Linked DNA regions of Homo sapiens: region 1 is linked to region 2. Evidence: promoter capture Hi-C in human tissues and cell types (Jung and others, 2019). All regions are on one chromosome and are shown on one strand. Each heading gives the region's core, a stretch centred on a gene start or on the middle of the fragment in contact. The rest is flanking DNA. Distances are from core to core; before and after follow the strand shown.

The links. The method cuts DNA at HindIII sites, captures the fragments that hold promoters and counts their contacts. A contact is called where the count stands out against the background at its distance.
Region 1: a contact is called between a fragment that was not itself captured here and the fragment with the promoter of ITGA2 in region 2, in 3 of the 25 tissues and cell types used here (IMR-90 fibroblasts, mesendoderm cells and neural progenitor cells).

The regions. Positions count from the first base shown.
Region 1 is chr5:52,946,291-52,951,094 of GRCh38, reverse strand. ITGA1 (integrin subunit alpha 1) reads right to left here. Exons shown (of 29, transcript NM_181501.2): 28 at 3,634-3,750. It overlaps ITGA2-AS1 (ITGA2 antisense RNA 1), which reads left to right. Exons shown (of 4, transcript NR_186583.1): 3 at 2,188-2,270. Among named protein-coding and RNA genes, the nearest start is that of ITGA2, 41 kb to the left of the region's middle. The HindIII fragment of the contact is 4,453 bases long and covers 906-4,804 here.
Region 2 is chr5:52,988,047-52,992,976 of GRCh38, reverse strand. It overlaps ITGA2 (integrin subunit alpha 2), which reads right to left and starts at 3,625. Exons shown (of 30, transcript NM_002203.4): 1 at 3,445-3,625. The coding sequence starts at 3,508. It overlaps ITGA2-AS1 (ITGA2 antisense RNA 1), which reads left to right and starts at 2,691. Exons shown (of 4, transcript NR_186583.1): 1 at 2,691-2,887; 2 at 4,701-4,773. RefSeq lists a silencer at 3,672-3,821 and an enhancer at 4,286-4,930. The HindIII fragment of the contact is 5,063 bases long and covers 930-4,930 here.

The sequences.
Region 1 (4,804 bases), core at 1,883-4,382, 41 kb after region 2:
AAAATTTTTATTCAGGGCTCATGTCTTCTATTATGCCATCATCTAGTTGGTGGTAGATGAAGAAAAGGCGGTAACGGAACAAATACACATGAAAACAATAAGTTTTTCTTCCCCAAATGCCAGCTCTCCTACACGTCTCAGGCTTTTTCATATGAGCCAAGTATAAAAGTTCCAGATTCACAAACCATTAGGCTTCTTAACTTGTGCCTGCATGTCCTGAGTCAAAAATAAACAGACAAGGCTTTCACAAAAGCAGGTGGTGGATTCTAAGACTTTTTCTCCTTCCCACTCTGCTTTGCTTCTGATCTCTCACAGCTCTTTTTGCTTCTTTACAATGCTCCTTGGCTTCTACACATTAAATGTTCTATTTTAAAATAACTTCTGTTATCTAAGCACTCCACCCAACCAATTAACATGGGTTTTTAAGAGAAGTTGAGTGGCAAAGAGTGGAGATTAGGAGAAAATAGTTTATAGCTTCAAGATGGACTGGGCCAATCCTAGCCCAAATTTGAAACCAATAGAGTTTGTTTTCAGCCCCAACACTTTCTTTGCAGCACTGGCTTTCATTTTTTCCTTCCTGTGTTTGCTTCATGATCCCTTGTTCAAAACCCTATGGCAAAGGCTCTAATGAGGTGATAACTGTCAGAAAAGTAAGTGCTTAATGAATATAACATGGAATAATTGCTGAATGAATAAATTCATACTAATGTATAAAAGACTAAAAAGTGGTGAGACACCAGTCCCCATCCACACCCACCCAGAACATGTATATTGGATGAAGAATAAAGCTTTAGGATTAATAAATAAATCATCAGTTGAGGAACTTCAGGCATCATTATGACATCAAGTTAGGAGAGAGGAATGTTCTGAGTCTCTCATGGCTCCTGGTGTGCTGGCATCTCCCCCGGCATGTGGTACCACAGTTCAGGACAAGTTTCTCCACCTATTTAAACCTACGTCCCCTACAAGATTCCTCCCATCAATCATGAAGTGTATTAAGCAGCTACTAACACTTTGTCAAGCTTTAATTTTTGCCATGTGTATGATGAAGACAAAGATATAAAGACTGTGTCTTTTGAAAGTGAATCTCTGCTCTAAGAGAAACTTTTGGCCTGTCTCTTACACAGAGACTCAGACTTGGGAGTTCCAATGAACTCCAAACTGGTGGGATTCAGGAAAGGAAGGAAGAAGGGATAGTCCTGAGGTGTCTGATCCAGATCTAGTTAGAATAAAAAAGATGTCTGGGATAAGAGTAGCTCTTCTGAACCTACTGCAACTGAACTCATGCTTCAGGCAGCTTCCAACAGAACTTTAAAGTAGGGGGAAGTGGGATTAGCCTTCTTGATATAATGGAACTACCGAAAGTCTGAATCCAACCAGGGACCCTCATTCCAAAACCAAAGACAGTATTATGTGTTTAAGAGAGTTCATGACTCTCTTGAACAAAACCCAACTCCTGGAGCTCCAGAGTAAAGAGCCCTACCCTATAGCCTGCAGCAGTAGGATATATTGGAAAAAGAAAGAGCTCTGTAGATCATTCCTTGAATCCAGTCATTTACTAGCTAGTAATCATGGGAGAGTCACTTTACCTCCCTTTGCTTTAATGTCCTCAGGTGTAAAATGTAGTTAAAATACTTGGTCGAAAAGATTGTTGCAAGGACACCAGAGTGAATGGAAGCAAGAGAGAACACAGAGTGATAATAGTCAGTGGTTTTGGCACAGAATTCAGATCCTTACTCTGAATCTCACTATGTGTCTTTGGGAAATATACTTAAATTTTATGTTCTTCACTTAAAAGAGGAGGTTCATACGACCTCATAAGGTTGATATGAGTATTAAGTGGGAATGCTTAAAGCAGAAATGTTTAAAATAGCTCCCTGCACATAGTAAGCATTCGATAAGAGCTAGTTTCTTCCCTTCTACCTTAGAATCACAGTTCTGATTGCTGGGCCTCCCAATGAAGTGGCTGAACTATTTCTACCGGGTAAGACAGCCCAAAGTTTGTCAAATGATCTTCTTTTGGGCCTGCAATAATAATAATATTAATAATAACCTAAGAAGCTGTCAGAATGTATCAACACATCATTATCTGGATGAAACAATGAGCTTAGTTTTACATTTATGCTTTTTCAGACTACTGACTGAAAAATAGGTGACTGAAATTTCCTATTTGTTTGTCTGAAACAGAGGTACAAGGCCTGAAAGAACCTATCCAAATATCAGCTCTGGTTTTCCTCTTCTCCTGCCAGCGGTGTTCTAAAACCATAGAGGTAAGTGCAGTGCTGAGAACAGAAGACTATGCTGAAAAAAATCAACAGTAACACTCTCTATTAGAGGTGCATAGAAATGAAGAAACCACTTCCTATATTTCAAGTACAACCTTGACACCAATAAGCCAGGCCTTGGGTACCACAGTGTGGCAAAGCTAGGTATTACAGAGAGAACACTGATCCCTTATAAAGTAGAAGGAAGAGCTGGACATTGGCTATAGTGGAGAATTTTGTTTGGGGAACTTTGCTAGAGAAAAGCCATGGATTCTATTTACTGAATTAAATGCCACTGACCTACATCTGGCTTTGTTCACCATCTCCTCTGAGACTAAGCCCCTCAAAAGAGGAAGTGAGTCATAGGAGAGTAAGAAAGGATAGGAACAGTTGGTATTTCAGTGGGAGAGAAACTTGCTATTTAAACTATTTGATTAAATAATTATGTTGCTCAGGTAATAGAACAATTAATATGTAGCCACAACCTATATTTTTAACATAATTTAACTATTTAACAAAACAATAGGTAAAATCTAGGGGGATATTATGCTAGAATAAATGCTTATTTGATATTTAATTGAAAAAACATTCAACTCTGTATGGGATGTTATTCTCTATTCAACTTATCCCAAAAGCTGTCATCTCAATTCTACTTAATGTGAAAATTATACAGCTGCTAAGAGTTTTAAAAATCATGTCTATTTCAGCCTAAGCAAAACATTACATAAATATCCAGAGTTACTTGACACAAAATAGGTGGTTACTCACATTTACCACAGAATTTGAAATAGGAGTCTGTGAAACTTTAAGATCTCCCCTACATCAGCTGATCCCTTATCCTCCACTCAGGCACACAATTTATTACATAAAATGTGCCATATATATTTAAACATTAAAGAATTATTTGATATTTAAGACACATGGAGATGTGATTAAAACAAGGCTTATTTTAACCTTGAATCTACTGCTTATATATCCTTAAATTGACATAGGAATTCATTTTTTCTTTCTCTATAAAAGACAGTTTTCATTGTTCTCTGTTTATAAAAGAAATACATACTTATTATAAAATTTTAATTGTTACACATGTGAAAGTCCCCTATCATACTAAACTCTAGAAAGATACTTTTGTGAATTTTTGACTATTTCTAACTTAAAATAAGTTTTTTTTCCTTTACAAAAATTGGGTCAAGTTGTGTGCAGTGTTTGAAATACGCATTTTTCTTTTTTCTTTCCCTTAGTCATCATTTCAACGTTTGTTTCATTGCTGTAATAATACTATATTACATAGTCTGAATATATCAGAGCTTATTTCTCCAGTTTGCTGTTGATGATTGAAGTAGAGAGTCAAAGGAATTTTGGTGTTTACCTTCCACAGTGCTAAAATGAGCAGCATTAACAGCAACAATCCGGCAAAAGCACTCAGCAGGATGACCCATAATGGCACTCTGCCCGGTAGCCCATCTTTGGATATTTGAATAGCAAGCTGAAAATTATTAAACAAGATTGTTAACATAATAAACACCTATTAGAACTCCTGGAACATTGAGTTCTTGCAGGCTACAATTCTCTACCAGTGCATTAATCTCGTTACTATATAATGAGAAAACATTAGATTTACATTAGAAAATGCTCTTCATCTAGTCTAAATCTCTAACTATGTCAAATTTATTATTACCAAAAGGTATTTATAATATTATCCTTCTGAAATTTATACATAAAGGGTTAAATGTCAATGGATTGGAATGCTCAAGGGGAGGAGTGAATTTCTGTTTAACTCAGGGAGAACCAAAGTATTATGTGTGTTAAAGATTAATTAGTACACTACTGTATTATCACAATAGCATTAGTTTAGATTGGAATGTCGCAGTTTGTTGTCATAAGAACCTGAGAAAGTCTCCTTATTTTATTTCTAGTGTGCATAATTTTTTGTTTATAAATTGAAAGTATAATGCATACATGTCAAGTGTATGGGTAAGTGAATGTTTGCATATGTATTCACTCCCAGTGTGCTCTTCATTATACCACAATGTTTCTTCTACTTGACTTATCACTGGGTCCACATGTATAAATCAGGTTTTAACTGAAGCAAAGCTGTAAAATGGACCGCTTTTAGTGTTCCAGCTACTCAAGCTCTCTCAGGGTGGCACTCAAACCTCAATGAAACCTATCTGCTCTGTGTCTCATCCCTGGGGGATTTGAAAAAAATTAATTTAGGGTAGATATCAATGGCTAGTAATAGTTCAAGCCCTGTATTTGCCTTTAACAGTAACACCTCAATTTCTTTACCTAGAGGGAAGATTAGGGTAGAAAAAGAAACTAACAGGGGAGAGATTTGTATATGCATGATACTAATCAAAACCTCTCAAATCACTCCAGGTAGGTGACAGAGCTGGCAAGAATGTAGACATATACAGCATCAGACCATTATGACAGTTTCTTAAAACAAAACAAAACAAAACACAGATGGGGTTTCACTATTTTGCCCAGGCTGATCTCAAACTCCTGGGCTAAAGTGATCCTTCCATCTCAGTCTCCCG
Region 2 (4,930 bases), core at 2,376-4,875:
TGTAGTCATAACAAAGAATGGTGTATATAGATGGCTTTAGAGTGTGTACATGTGTGGGCATGTGTGTGGTGTGTGTGTGTGAATGTGTATTTGTGTTCAGGAAAGCATACAGTAAAGAAAAGATTGGATAGGTAGAATGTACCTTTTTATGACATGCCAAGAAATTGGCACTTTACCCTACCTGAGATGGGGAGCCACTAACATTTGAAACAAAGCAGTAATTGGAAACATATAAGTGTCTTAGAAAGATATCATTAGTGAAAATGAAGAGAATGGGTTGGAGAGATAAGAAAAGAAAATCCAGTTTAAAAGTTACATACAGACATAAGATGAGGGACTGACTGGGTGGCAGGAGTTGCATGGATGGGAGGAGAGCCAAGAGAATTTGGAGAGTGGCTGTGAGGTTGAAAACATGGGGACAAATTCCTGGCTTTCATGTTTGTGTGATAATAATACTGCCATTAAACAATGGTAGCCAATAGAGGAGAAAATTCTGGAGGACACGTATTAAATTCAGTTTTGGAAATGTTGAATCTGGCTTACTTACAGACTGTCTAGCTGGAGAAATTTGGTGGCTGATGGAAATACTGATCTGGAACTCAGAAGGGGAGGCTGGCTGGAGATAGGGACCTGTGCAGGGAATGGGCCCAGAGACAATCTGCAGAATGAAGAGGAGGATTCAGGATGAAACTCTGCAAACACCAACAAGGAAAGAGCCTGTGAAGGAGATGACGGGAGAGCAGCGAGGAAAGGAGGAGAAAAACAGGAAGAGAACAGAAGCCAGAAGTACAGGATGTTTCAGGAGGAAATTAAATATCAAAAGAAATATTTTTTTTACAATAAGAAAAATTAGAATATTTACAGACTGAGGGGAAGTTACATTAGGGAGAGAATTTGAAGACGTGCACTGAAGAGGGATGAGTGCTGGGGCAGGGTTTCAGGGATAGTAAGAAAAGATGTGGTCTAGAACCTGGGTGGAAGGACTATCCTTGACCTGTGAACATACTGGAGAAAATACGTGATGGCCTTCATTTCAAAATTACATTTGCCTTCTGCTAATGGCCTATATTTAGTTTATAGATTATCTAGGCCTCTTATGTTCTCTCTTTTTCATCCTCAGACTGCCCATTTACCATTTTCATGGTATTAAGCACTTAGAAATGAGCACTGAAAGGTGATAAATATAGGACTAAACTATGAGTACATTTTCTTCTTAAGCACCTGTGAAAAGGTTTCTGGAAAGCAAATTTGAATGTAAGTGTTAAAATAAGATTTGAAGGTGATATGTTTTTAAAGTGGTTTGCATGTATGCTAGAGATGATACAAGATGTCTAAACACACATGTGTTTTATACATATTAACAGGTATATATATGTATATACAATTGTATATACATAACACGGCATATTGTATACTCAAGGAACAGGTTTTCTCTTAATTTAAGATCATCATAATGAAGCTCTGTCACATACATAGCTTTTAAATTTGAATTTTTGTATGTGATATGATGCAATTGTACATACTATAATTTTATAACAGTTATGTGTGTGTGTGTGTGTAATGATAGTGAATGAGAAATTTTATACAGATAGGGTAATGCCATACAAAATTTTAGATACTACTGAGCTAGAGATTTCACTTATTCATGTTAACCTGGGATACTCATGGTACCAAAAAACGATGCTGCTTCTCCAGGAACCTCAAGTGATATCACAAATGAGAGAGCTTTCTTATGAGGATCTTAAATTAAGAGAAAACCTGTTCCTTGAGTATACAAATGGCTGGAGTAGGAGGAGGGAATAAATGCACAAAACTTTTGCAGATGTTATTTTCGATCATCTCTGCTTGCTTGCCCTGAGGTGTCCTTATTAACTCCAGGTTAAGTCTCTGTTCCTGACTTCATGCCTTGCAGCGTTACATTCCATTAAAGAATTTCTCACTGCTCTTTACATAACAAGCCTCAACATTTCAAAGATAAGAAAATGATGTTATGTTTCCACAGCTTATTTTAATACTGGGTAATTACAGAGAGATGAAAAGCTTGGGTTTATATTTCTATTAGCTCTAGTTGTATTCCAGAGACTCATTTTCAATGTCAAGTACAACTTTACCTGAAATCCGTAGATTAGGGTTGGTGGCCCCTCAAAACAACTCATCTGGTTCCCGGAGAAAGTATCTGAAGCACCCAATACAGGTGAGACAGAAAACCTAAGATGCCCATTCTCTGCTCGGGCTGGGGACAGTGGTGCTATTTCTCTCTTATCTCTGACCTGGAGAAAATGCCACCAGGTTGACGTGGACTAGGATTCATTCCTCCACAATAAAGAATAGCAAGTGGCTGAATGTCAGTCTCAAAGGAGGACAGCTTAGGAAATATTTATCTTCTTTGTAAAAAAAAAAAAAAAAAACCACACACACACTTTAAAATCAGAGACAACTTTTTTGTTTTGTTTTGATCGCTGTTCAAACTACATTATACAAACGTGTCTCCTTCTCCCTCCAAATAAACTAAAATTCTTAAATTTGACCACACTCTAGCTCTGCCTAATGGTCAGGGAAAAAGTACTCAGGCGATGGTCCCACAAAAGCTCTCCACCCCAGCCTTATTTCCTCCTCTTAGTGTAAAAGAACTCAGGAGGTGGGCGGGCCCCACTGCCACAGCACTACAGTTAGAGCGGCTGCTCCGGCTTATTCTCTCATTGCGGCATCTAGGATCCAGAAGTGAAAAGAACTTTTCCTAGCCTAAGTTTACATTCGTCGAATAGACAATGTTACAACAATAAGAGGAAGGCAGAAGGGAAGGAAGAATTCCCCTCTGCCAAGTATTTAAGTGGCGCTTGGTTTATTCCAAGTCCCCCCGGGAAGAAACACAGCGCTTCGTCCTCAAGTAAGAAATAGAGGCATTATTCACATCCTTGGGTTGAAAAATAAGCATTTTGGGGCTCGCAGGCTTCTGCAAAGCCAGCAAGCACCGCGCTGGGGAGCTGCAGGCCGCCATCAGCAATGGATTCCGGATTTCCCTGGTCTCTGGCAGGCGCGGCACCTGTCTGAGCCAGGGGAAGTTGGGCTGCAGGACTCGCGGTCTCCAGGACACCCGCGGATCCCCACACTGTCCATGCTTGAGTGCGTGCGTGTCTGTCTGTGTGTGTGTGTGTGTGTGTGCGTGTGTGTACCTAAAACAAAGCACTCACTGAGATGACTTTGGAGGGTGCTTAACAGACAGGGCGAGACGCGCCTAATGGGGACGCAAGGCCTGGGATAGCAGGAAGGGAACGAAGAAGTATCTCTTTCCAAGCAGGTCCTGGTGGCTGGGAGCCCGAGTCCACGTGGAATCCGAGGGAACACACGGAGCTCGCTCCCTAGTTCCGCCCAATCCCTCCAGCGAGCCCCAGGAAGCCGCGCGGGTCCCTCCTGCAGCCGATGCAGAGCGAAATCCCCGCTTACCTTGACTGAGCGCTAACACCAGCAGCAGCGGCAGCGGCGCGGCCCCTGTCCGTTCTGGCCCCATCCTGGGTCTGACCGGGGGACCGTAGTTGCGCTGGGTTTGCAGAGGTTTGCAGAGGATACCCTTGGCCGAGGGATACGAGAACCTGCACACTCTAGAAGCTGTCCAGAGGGCTTCTCTCCCCCGCCCGGTGAGAGCAGGGAAAAGTTTCTGGGCAGCTCCTGCAGCGCCGAGGGCCCGCCCCAGCCCGCCCCTCCTGATTCCGCAAACACCGGATCTGCTCCGGCCGCGCCCCGCCCCACCCCGGCCCTGCGGCCCCGCGGGCTGCACCTCGGCTCGTCCACACGCGGGGCACCGCACCTTGGCTCCCGTACAGCGGCCCAGCCCCGGCAGCCTGGAGGCGGTGGGGATGGGGATGGCGCCCTGGCAGGCTTTCCTGCCCTGGACGGGACGGGTGGGCATATCCGACGGGCGAGCGCCCGCCCTGGCACCACTCCGCCCCCGCAGCCTGTCGCCAGCACGCAGGAGATGCCCCAGTCCCCGGGAGAACGTGGCCCCTCCGCAGCCCTTGGCAGCGCCCGGCTCCTGGCAGCGGGTGCCGAGGGCACTAGCCCTAAACCACAGTGCCTAGGGGCTGCGCGGTGCGTCCCTTTCTCTGTTTTTCCTAAGTGGGTGGAGAAAGGGACAAAAATAAGCGCAGAATGACCAGGTTAGAAACTAACTCATCAGGAAAGAAGATCTGCTCACAAGTTATGATTATCCAAGGTGATATTTAAGCAATACCTGCTGCAAGAGCTGTGTGTGTGTGTGTGTGTGTGACAGAGAGACAGAGAGAGAGAAATCATCATTACTTCCTCTCCTCCGAGATAATTAAGAGCTGATTTAATGACTGAGTTTAGGAGATTAACTTCAAGGCCAGAGAAAAGGCTGAGAGCCCATACATGCACTTGTGACTCTCCCTGTCTACATTACACCATGACATAGACTGTGACCATTTTCTTCCATTATTTCAGTCTCACATCTGGAAAGAGAACATTCTATATCCGAGATTTTTAGTTAAAAACCTAAGAAATAGGATATTAATTTTTCTTGTCTGAATCTTATGTTTTATCCAAAAGTTTGGCCACAAATTTCCAGCACATTGCTGAAACCAGAATTCTTCCAGTGACTACTTTTGTGAAGGAACGAACTGTTTTCATAAATCAAGCTTAAGGAGTTATGAGTCTAATAATCATCATTATTGTCATCATTCCAGATCTTCATGGAATGCTACTATGAGCTGAATGGGATGCCTGAGATACTGCCTCTAGGAAGCAAAGTGGCTCAAGGTGGGAAGGACTTAATAATTCATAAAAATCAAGCTCTTCTCTTTACTATAGATAGGGCTGATGTGTCACATTGTTAAAGTATTAAATTGGTATGCATCAGATGTTGCTGCTGATGGCTTATGACTAATACCCTTTGAACCCAAATTATATAGTCCCA